2 separate regions of the Homo sapiens genome follow, and region 1 is linked to region 2. Evidence: promoter capture Hi-C in human tissues and cell types (Jung and others, 2019). All regions are on one chromosome and are shown on one strand. Each heading gives the region's core, a stretch centred on a gene start or on the middle of the fragment in contact. The rest is flanking DNA. Distances are from core to core; before and after follow the strand shown.

Evidence for each region. Contacts are between HindIII fragments. The study calls those that stand out against the background at their distance.
Region 1: a contact is called between a fragment that was not itself captured here and the fragment with the promoter of MEAF6 in region 2, in 1 of the 25 tissues and cell types used here (aorta).

The regions. Positions count from the first base shown.
Region 1 is chr1:37,885,889-37,890,777 of GRCh38, forward strand. INPP5B (inositol polyphosphate-5-phosphatase B) reads right to left here. Exons shown (of 24, transcript NM_005540.3): 9 at 3,669-3,836; 10 at 2,355-2,456; 11 at 1,463-1,577; 12 at 1,000-1,116. Among named protein-coding and RNA genes, the nearest start is that of MTF1, 29 kb to the left of the region's middle. The HindIII fragment of the contact is 4,836 bases long and covers 1-3,702 here.
Region 2 is chr1:37,511,334-37,516,588 of GRCh38, forward strand. MEAF6 (MYST/Esa1 associated factor 6) reads right to left here and starts at 3,433. Exons shown (of 7, transcript NM_001270875.3): 1 at 3,324-3,433; 2 at 2,090-2,205. The coding sequence starts at 3,413. RefSeq lists a silencer at 3,018-3,617. The HindIII fragment of the contact is 13,544 bases long and covers 302-5,255 here.

The DNA.
Region 1 (4,889 bases), core at 35-2,534, 370 kb after region 2:
AAACTTTCTGGCCGGGCACGGTGGCTCACGCCTGTAATCCCAGCACTTTGGGAGTCCGAGGCGGGTGGATCATGAGGTCAGGAGTTCAAGACCAGCCTGGCCAAGATGGTGAAACCCCGTCTCTACTAAAAATACAAAAATTAGCTGGGTGTGGTGGCAGGCGCCTGTCATCCCAGCTACTCGGGAGGCTGAGGCAGAGCACTGGTTGAACGCGGGAGGGAGAGGTTGCAGTGAGCTGAGATCACGCCACTGCACTCCAGCCTGGGAGACAGAGTGAGACTCCATCTCAAAAACAAACAAACAAAAAAAAAACCCTACAGACTTTCAAAATGTTTTGTCTTAATCTTTATAATAATCCTGTGGTATTATCTATATTGTACAGATTAAAAAAAAAAAGAAGGCAGAATGACTAGCCAGTCAATGGCAAAGCTGAATCCACAACCTAACTCTCTCGAACTCCTGGCCTCAAGTGATCCACCCACCTCAGCCTCCCAAAGTGCTGGGATTACAGGTGTGAGCCACCACACCCAGCCCCAAAACCTAGCTCCCTTAATCCAGTGTTCTTTTCACTAAATCACAGGCAAACCATAGGTACCCTTTGAAAACACAAAGCTAAGCTCTCACAGAAGAACCTAAAAACAGAACTTTAATGGCCTCAATAAGAAGAGGAAATTGCAAACCTACTGTCAGCATTCTTTGTTTTTCTGAATGACCCAGCATAGTTTCTGCAACATACTTCATGGGTGAAATGGGAGGATCAACTGGAGGCTCTAGTGTTGGGGAATATGAGGACAGGCGCTAATTGGTTAAATCAGCAGGTAGTTCACTAAAACAGTTTCTAAATAGTTTGCTCGACTGAGCCCTGCTTGAGGGTATGATTCATCTTGGAATATTGGCACCTTCAAACTGGGACACGTGTAGTCACTGTGTCATCAGAAGTGGTCAATACCTCAGGAGCTAAGGTCCTCAATGTGCCAAACAAACCAACCAAGGACTCACCATCCTCCCCATGATTCCTGTCCCCACAGTCTCGGCTTCCACTTCTGAGATATAAGCTGCATGCTCCTGTTTGACATATAACAGCAGCATAATCCCAACCAGTCGGATAAGCTTCACCTGGAAAAGAGAGACATGGCATTAAATAGAAATTGCAAACAGGAATAAATACCCCAAAGGAAACATAGTCTGGAAGCTGGCTGAGAGTATTCACGTGTCTCCTTCTCCACACTAGAACACAGGTAATCATCTGTTCAATTCACCAAGCATGCTATGTGCTAACCTACGAGTGGCGAGACCCTGCATCTTTCCCACCCGGAGGCACCCCTTCTGGAAGATCTGGAAATGAAAATTGCGGGATAATTAAGACTGGCTTAAGATAAAGGTCATGGAAAAGGTGAAAAATGATCTTGGAATTTCCCTGCATGGCAACATAAAATTAAGAGGTCCCTGACTCCTCTCTTACCTTTGCATATTTGGCATCTGGATGAAGACCCTCTGACACAGCTTTGAACCACTCTTCCTCCTTTGGGGTATCGTGAAAGAAAAAAGCTTCCTTACTCAGATCAAGCTCCTGGAACCTATTTTGAGAAGCAACCAGTTAGATAGTAAAGAAAAGTAATGTGCAAATGACACATTCTCAGATTGGTTTAGGTGCATAAGCCCTAGCTTTCTAGCTAAACTTCAGGACCCTCAGGAGGAAAAAATAAACATTTAGAGCCAAGGAACTAAATGCCAAGGAACTTTGCAGGTGCTGTTGCAAACAAAAACCCATTTTCTTTTCATGACCAGCCTATGAAGTAGTTCGAAGTGTCCCTATTTTACATCTGTAACCCCTAGTTCACACAAGCACCAAGTGGCAAACTGGGATTCAAACCTTGGTCTACATAAATTATGAATTCTAGTTCTTTTCAATATACCATACAAGCTTTGCTGCCCCTCCCCACTAGTAATGCCCAGTATAGAGATGAGAAGATTAAAAAAAAAAAAGACTAACTGATGGGACTTTCTTCAGCTAACCTTTCTTCTCTGGCAGAAGATAGTTTTGCTTTGTAACCAAAAATGTATTGAATGTCCAAGCAATAAAGTTCAGTTCAGGATGCACTGAGTTCAGGATGCAATTCAGGATTTTAACAGAAGATTACACTAAAAATTAAATACTAGCACTTAAATGCCAAGCACCCCACTTTAATAGTGGCAGACATTTGCTTGCCATGAGGAAGAACATCAAACAGGGAAACAGCTGTTATCAGGCATCTGTTCATTTTTCAAATCCTTCACCTGTTGTGAAGACCCATCCTTCAACCACAGCTCTGTGTGCTTGAAGATGGAGAGGGGACTAGAAGAGAAGCACTCACCCTACACAATAGACATCTGGGGCCTGGATACCATTGCTCAGCCACAGCCGGAGGCATTCTTTGGGGGACTGCCCATTTACATTGTATGTTCCCGCAAAAAACCTGTCACCAAAGAGAAATAATTAGTGACTCCGAATCACTATGGAGATAACAGGAGAAAGCATTTTATGCTGATTTATGCTGGTTTCCGTCTCTGTGGACTGGCATTTTGAGACATAAGAAATGTCATTTCTAACCTAGACCAGGACTGCAGCACCAAGGAGTGACTTGCGGTCTGTCATGGTATCTGTTACTTTTGTGATAACAACTTCAAATAGTATAGGCCTACTCCGAACATTCCCACTTCCTTTAAACAGCCATTACCCAGGCATTATCTGCATAATTATTTGCCTTGTATATACTACTGAAATGAAAAAATGAAAAGTGCTTTGGTAATTACTTTTGGCAAGAAAGCAACACCAGTATTCAAAAGGCTATTTCTTCACCATAATTCACAGTTTGTATCCCTAGAAACAATGTTATTTTATCTTATAGTCCCAATGCAACGATTTTGAAAGATCTAGCAGAATCCCACAACCTTTATTAATTTAGCTTTTAGTAATCTTGCCTAAAAAGATTACCAAACACCAGCTAACTTCATTTTAGTAATTTCATTTTAAATGACTTTCTTCAAAGGCCCAGAATGCCAAGGGAGTATAAAACCTTGGAGGGATACATAAGAATCAAGAGGCCAGGTGTGGTGGTTCACACTTATAATCTCAACAATTTGGGAGGCCAAGGCGGGAGGATTGCCCAAGCCCAGGAGCTTGAGACCCATGTGGGCAACACAGTGCGACCCTGTCTCTACAAAAATTTAAAAATCAGCACATGTGTATTACCAGCTACTCCAGCAGCTGAGGTGGGAGGGTTACTTGGGCCCAGGAGGCTGAGGGTACAGTGAGCTGTGACTGCACCACTGCACTCCAGCCTGGGCAACAAAGCGAGACCTTGTCTCAAAAAGATAAAACATAAATAAATAAAAGAATCAGGATGGCGCTCCTTCTTCTGTACCCATTTGTCTCCACAAATATTTCTGTAACTATCTGCAAGTCGTGTCACTCCCACTATACCACACCTATCACCGTGCCCACCTAGAAAGGGCACAGAATAAATGCCTGTTAATAAAGAATGCATGGAATCACTCATTTTGAAAATGAGGGGAGAGATTCTATAGAAGAGTATGTCTCCAAATCCAGGTATAGGAGGAAGTGCTCAAATTCCAGAGTGCCAAATGATCATTCTGCTCTGAAAACATCCTAGAACCCAGTTAGCTACCTGAAGTTCTGGATATAGGTGTAATCCTCTTCTTTCTGTAGTAGATGTGATTTCACAATTGTATCTCGCAGTCCAAACTTCTGCATGGATAAAATATGAGCCTTGTCCGACACTGTGATAGTGGAGGAGCGAACCATGTCAGTAATTTCGGACTTGGATTTATTCTGTCTGGAAAAACAGAAGTATTTTTTTCATATGTGGATGAGTCCCCATGGCAAAATGAATGAATACAAAGCTAAAAGTTCCCCTATACAAGCATCTAAGTCACAGAAGACTAAAGGAGGCCAAAGTAAAATTTATCTACTAAAACAACACTATTTCTATGTGGAATTAAGTAAATTTATATTTTGTTGATTGTATAATATGTTGGTCTGGAGATTTTCCTAATAATAGAGTCACAGAATCTCAGACCAGAGGGGCATCTTAAAGATAATCTAATTCCCTCAGTTCTAAATGAGAAAAATGAAACCCAGTGTCATTAACGCCTCACCCACATGAATGGTGGCAGAGTATGGGATTCAATCATGTAATTGACAAGCCGGGCATGGTGACTCATGCCTGTAATCCCAGCACTTTGGAAGGCCAAGGGAGGCAACTCACTTGAGGCCAGGAGTTCGAGATCAGCCTGGCCAACATGGCAAAATCCCATCTCTACCAAAAATACAAAAATGAGCTGGGTGTGGTGGCACATGCCTATAATCCCAGCTCCTCGGGAGGCTGAGACACAAGAACCACTTGAACCTGGGAGACGGAGGCTGCAGTGACTGGGTGACAAAGTGAGACTCTGTCTCAAAAGAAAAAAAAAGAAAAAAACTGTAAAACCCTCTAGGTCCTTTAACTTGATCATTCTATTCTGTACATCTATTCCACAGGAATAATCCAAAATAAAAAGAAAGGCAATGAGAATTTATATTTTATTATTATTTGCATTGTACTGTATTTATAGTCGTAACTAAAATACTGATACAAGTAAGTGTTTTATCTTGACCAGACAGATTCTGGAGATATTCAGTAGGGGGCACTGGAGTACAGACTTCAGATATTTATATAATAACACACCTCAGGGGCGAGTCAGGAAAGAGTAAATAAAACAGGAAAAAAAGTCACTTCAGAGTCAGGAAACACCTAAAAGAATGAAAGAGTGAAATCAAACGTTTCTAATCTACATTTTCAAGGGAGGGCTAGACTGCCAGTTCCAAATCCTAGATTGACCACTTGATA
Region 2 (5,255 bases), core at 2,183-4,682:
GACTCTTTTTCAGAATGCCAGTAATAAATATAAAGGGAATAATACAATTAGAGAATCACTATTTTACAACTTCCAGTGTACTAACGGATTCAGATAAGAATCAACGGTGTATACTAAACAACTGAATACAAATTTAGAGGGAGCAGTATATTCATAATGTCTCAAAGCATAACATCCAAAATTACTTGTTAATCACAATGGGAAAAAATGAACTTTTATAGCAGATAAATCATATGATCAAACTTAGCAGCAACAAATAATAGGACAATGTGACATTATGTGCCTCCTGATAAACTAGAGATAGATAACAAAGGATACACCAATTGCCTATGTAAGATTTTTGCAAAAATGTTTAAAGGATCTTTCAGGACCCTTTTAATCAGTCATGAGTTTTGCCCTCAGAAAATCTCAGGAAACTGCAACATTCTACAAGGCAATGTCATGAATACCACCACAACCACCACCAAAAGGGTGACTCTCCTCAATCTTAAGACATAATAGCCAAATGCATGCATGAATGCTTACTGAATCCTGGATCAAAACAAATTAGCAAAGAATTTTTGGGGACAATTGAGGAAATTTTAATAAAGACTATGTATTAGATACTATTAATGCAGTATTGATTTTCTAGGTATAATAACTGGTTAGGTAGAAGAAATGGCCCTATACTCAGGAGGTAATTACTGACACATTTAGGTGCAAAGTGTCATTTACCTGCATCTAACTTTCAAACCGTTAAGTGGGAAAAAAAGGTAGGGGGACTGGGAGATATAACTACAAAGGAGTGGCATGAGGAAGATCTTTGTGGTAATGGAATAGTTCAGTAACTTCATTGTGGTTACATGAATCTACACACAAGATAAAGTGACACAGAACTATATATATACATTGTACCAATGTCAATTTTCTGGCTTTGATACTGTATTATAGCTACATAAAACACAACCATTGGGGAAAACCAGATGAAGGGTACAAGAGACCATTCTGCCAACTCCCTATGAATCTATAATTATTTCACAATTTAAAAATGTGAAATGTAAATATAGATGTGTGCTTATATTAATATATATTATAGAAAGTAAGAGAAAGCAAATGTCACAACACATTAACAATTTGTGAATATAGGTAGGAGGGTATCAAGTGTTCATATACTATTCTTCCCATTTTCCTATAATTTGAAGATTTTCTAAAAGTTTAGAAATTTTTTAAAAATAATATTACTAAGTAAGCAGTGGTACAGCTGGCACACAGGTATGGCAAAAATTGTGAGGGTCAGTTGGGCGTGGTGGCTCACCCCTTTAATTCCAACACTTTGAGAAGCTGAGGCAGGAGGACTGCTTGAAACCAGGAGTTCCAGGCCTGCCTGAGCAACAAAGTGAGATCCCACTTCTACAAAAAAAAGTTTTTAATTAGTCAGGTACAGTATGGTGTGCCTGTAGTCCCAGCTAATTGGGAGGCTGAGGTGGGAGGATCACTTCAGCCCAGGAGTCTGAGGCTGCAGTGAGCTAAGTTCGTGCTACTGCACTCCAGCCTGGACAACAGCGTGAGACCCTGTCTCTTAGAAAAAAGAAAAGTGGCCAGGCGTGGTGGCTCACACCTGTAATCCCAACACTTTGGGAGGCCAAGGCAGCAGATCACCTGAGGTCAGGAGTTCGAGACCAGCCAGGCCAACATGGAGAAACCTCGTCTCTACTAAAAATAAAAAAATTAGCCAGGCATGGTGGCACGCACCTGTAATCCCAGCTACTCAGGAGGAAAAAGAAAAAAAGAAAAGAAAAATACTGTGAGGGTAGAACTCATGACTGATTAAAATGTGTAAAAAATTTAATAGAATGCTATTGTATAAAGATACTGTATTTAAGCCTCACACAACCCTGTGCCATAGGCCCAACTTTCGCTATTTTACAGATGTGAGCCTTGTCTAAGATTATTCGGTGAGGCAGTGCCTGAGCCAGAGTCCAAGAGTTCAAGTCCAGATCACACCACTACTTTACTACTGCCTCCAGCAAAGTTGCCACTAAGAGCATACAGTCCTAAAAACAAACGTTACTAGGGCACAATAGGAACACTACAGGCTTTCGACACTCACTTTTGGTTGGTCAGATACCGATCCCAGCCACGAATAATATTGCCATACATCTGAGTGTCTTCCAGGTAGCTTCCCTCAAAAGCATAGATCTGTCGCTCCAAATTTGCCAATGTTTCCTGAGAGATGAAAAACAAGGACATGAATGATACCTTTTAAATGCAAACACTTAAGTCTGGCCAAAATGAAATCCTGATATTAGACTCGTAAACGCAAGCTTGCCCACACTAAACCACCCTGTGGAGAGATGGAAGATACGGGGAGGAGGAGCCGTTTAGGACTAAGACAGTCTAGACCTTTGGGGGTGATGGACCCCTGAATGTATAAAGCATGTCTCCAGAAAAATACACACACACGCGAAATTTTGCATATACTTTAGAGGATTCACGGAAACCATGAGTCAAGAGCCCAGGCTAACGCAGAACTTGGGCGATGTCCACTCCCACGCACAAAAGGTATCGCTACCAGGAGAGGGAAAGGTGAGCAGCCTTTCAGCGTCAACTCGCTCCCCTCCCCGCAGGCTCAAGAGAGGCCGCCGACACCGGGCTGCCAGTTGCTATGGAAACCTAGAAGGGCAGCTTCAGGTGAGAGGGGCCTCCCGGGTGCCCAAGCCGAGACGCGGGGGCAGGAAGAGCTTAGCCACCAGAGTGCATTGGGCCTTGGGTGCCTGTCACAATTCTGAATTCTCCGGAATGTGTTCTTCTCCCTCGCCTGTCACCTTCTAGATGTTCCCAAACACATCACAACCCTGTCTATCAAAAACCTCCATTCAACGGATCTACTCCCAGTACCAAAAAGAACACGCTCCCCACCAGCCTCCAAAGTCCAGACGGGGTGACTGGGTCCCCCTCCCACACTAGCCTCCTTCCCCACCCCCTCCCCGCAAAGATCACGGACTAGCCCGCCTCGCCCACCCCCGCGGCTCACTGACGCTCGCCCTTCCTAGCGCCCTCTCCCCGGGCCCCGGCACCGTCCTCCCTCCACGCCCCCTCCTGCGGCTGCCGCTTCCCCTCCCCCTCCCGCGCTCCCGGCTCTCTCCCGGCTCCGGATTCGCACAGCCGGGAAGCTGAACCGCCGGCGGGCCGCAGAATGCGCACCCGGCCTCAGGCCGCCGAGCACCCGGCCCGCCGCGCCGCGCCCCCGGAGTAACAAACGGCCTAGCGCGGCCGGGCTTGGGGCCTGGAGGCGGGGCGGGCGCGGAGCCCCATGCCGTGCAACCCCTGTCCTAGCCCCTCACCGCCAGCTCCTGCTTCCGCTTCACGAGCTCCGCCAGCTCCCGCCGGGTGTCCGGGATCTGCGGCGGCGCCGCCTTGTTGTGCATCGCCATGTTGGGCTGAGGCGGGCGGCGGCGGCGCGAGGTTGGGGGCGGTCCCTGCGCCGCCAGGGGGCGCCCCCCCGCTCTGCGCCTGCGCGCGCGGCTTCCGGAGACGCGTGCAGCGCCGTGCCGAGCTTCGCTAAGGCCGGGGCTCTCGAAGGTCCTTCTCGGAGAGCTCTAGAGATGCGGCTTCTGCTTTCTGCCGTTTCCTGCCCCTCGGCTGGCCGCCGGCTTTACAGACGCCACAAATCCACCGCGTCCAAAGCCTAGCTCGTCCTCAGGCCTCCGAGTCTCCTGTGCGCCCCGCTTCAGTCCACTTCAGTGAATGACTTTCACTATCCACCGAATTGCCTGCGTCAGAAACGCGGTTTTCCTCACTCTGCACCTGGAGTAAAACGCGATCCCAGGTCAAGCTCTATGGACTCGACTCCGGAAGAGCTCGCGAATCCATTTGCTTGTGCCTGCGCCTTCTGCCACCTCACTAGTTCATTCAGGCCCTCCCTGTTTGGGGCTACATTATTCCAGCGGCTTATTTCCACCTTTAGCCCCACTTAATCCACTATCCACAGTGGTGCCAGGATCTTCCAGAAACAAATGTTATCACTCCCCGGTTTAAAGTCTTTCAGTGGCTTCCCATTTTCCCAGTGCCCTTTGGAGAAACAAGTATGTGTAGTGGTTAAGGGCACAAAACTGGAGCGAGAACTACCTTGTTCAAAATCCTATCGCTACATCGATAAAGTGTGCTCCTTTGGGCAAATAACCAAATCTCAACTCCCTCATCTGTAAAATACAAGCAGTAATAGAATCTACCTAATACATTTGCTGTGAGGAGTAAATCACCTAATATGTGTAAGGGGTTTGGCAGGCGCCAATGACTGTGCAAGTACGAGTTCGCTTTTATCGTTAAGTCCAAGGTGTAAACGTTGTTTTCACTTGGCCCCTGTGGATTTCTCCGTCCTCAGCTCTCCATCTTTCACTGTTCTGCAGTTTCGCTATCATAAGTCTAAGTGGGATATTTTTTCTTCCTTTTGTTTTGTTTCTTGCTTGGAAGTCTTTGGATTTCTATAATATGTGGGTTGGTATCTTCCACCAGTTTTGGGAAATCGCAGTCATTTTTCTTCAGATGCCTGTCTCATTTCTCTCTCCTTCTGGAACTCGAACATAAGAAGCTTTTTAACCTACCGTCTATATTTTCCATCTTTTTGTCCCTCTGTGCTGCATTCTGAATAACTGGTTTCGTGTGCGGATCTTGTAACCTGCCATCTTGCTGAACTCCCTTACTAATTTTAGGGGGGGTTGTATAGATTCCTTGGAATTTTTACATAGATAATAATTTCATCTGCAAATAAATAGGGAGTTTTTTTTTTTCTAAGCTGAGTGCTTTTTCTTTTTCTTCCTTATTGTGCAGATTTCCAGTAGTCTGTTAAATAAAAGTGATAACATTAGACATCCTTGCCTTGTTCCCTGTTTTAAGGGGAATGCAGGCCGGGCGCGGTGGCTCACGCCTGTAATCCCAGCACTTTGGGAGGCCGAGGCGGGTGAATCACAAGGTCGGGAGATCAAGACCATCCTGGCTAACACAGTGAAACCTCGTCTTTATTAAAAAATACAAAAAAAATTAGCCGGGCGTGGTGGTGGGCGCCTGTAGTCGCAGCTACTCGGAAGGCTGAGGCAGGAGAATGGCGTGAACCCGGGAGGCGGAGCTTGCAGTGAGCCAAGATCCCGCCACTGCACTCCAGCCTGGGCAAGAGCGAGACTCCGTCTCAAAAAAAAAAAGGGGGGGTGGCGAATGCATTCAGTCTCTCACCATTAAGTATGACATTAGTTGTGGGAGTTTTGTAGATGCTGTTTTTC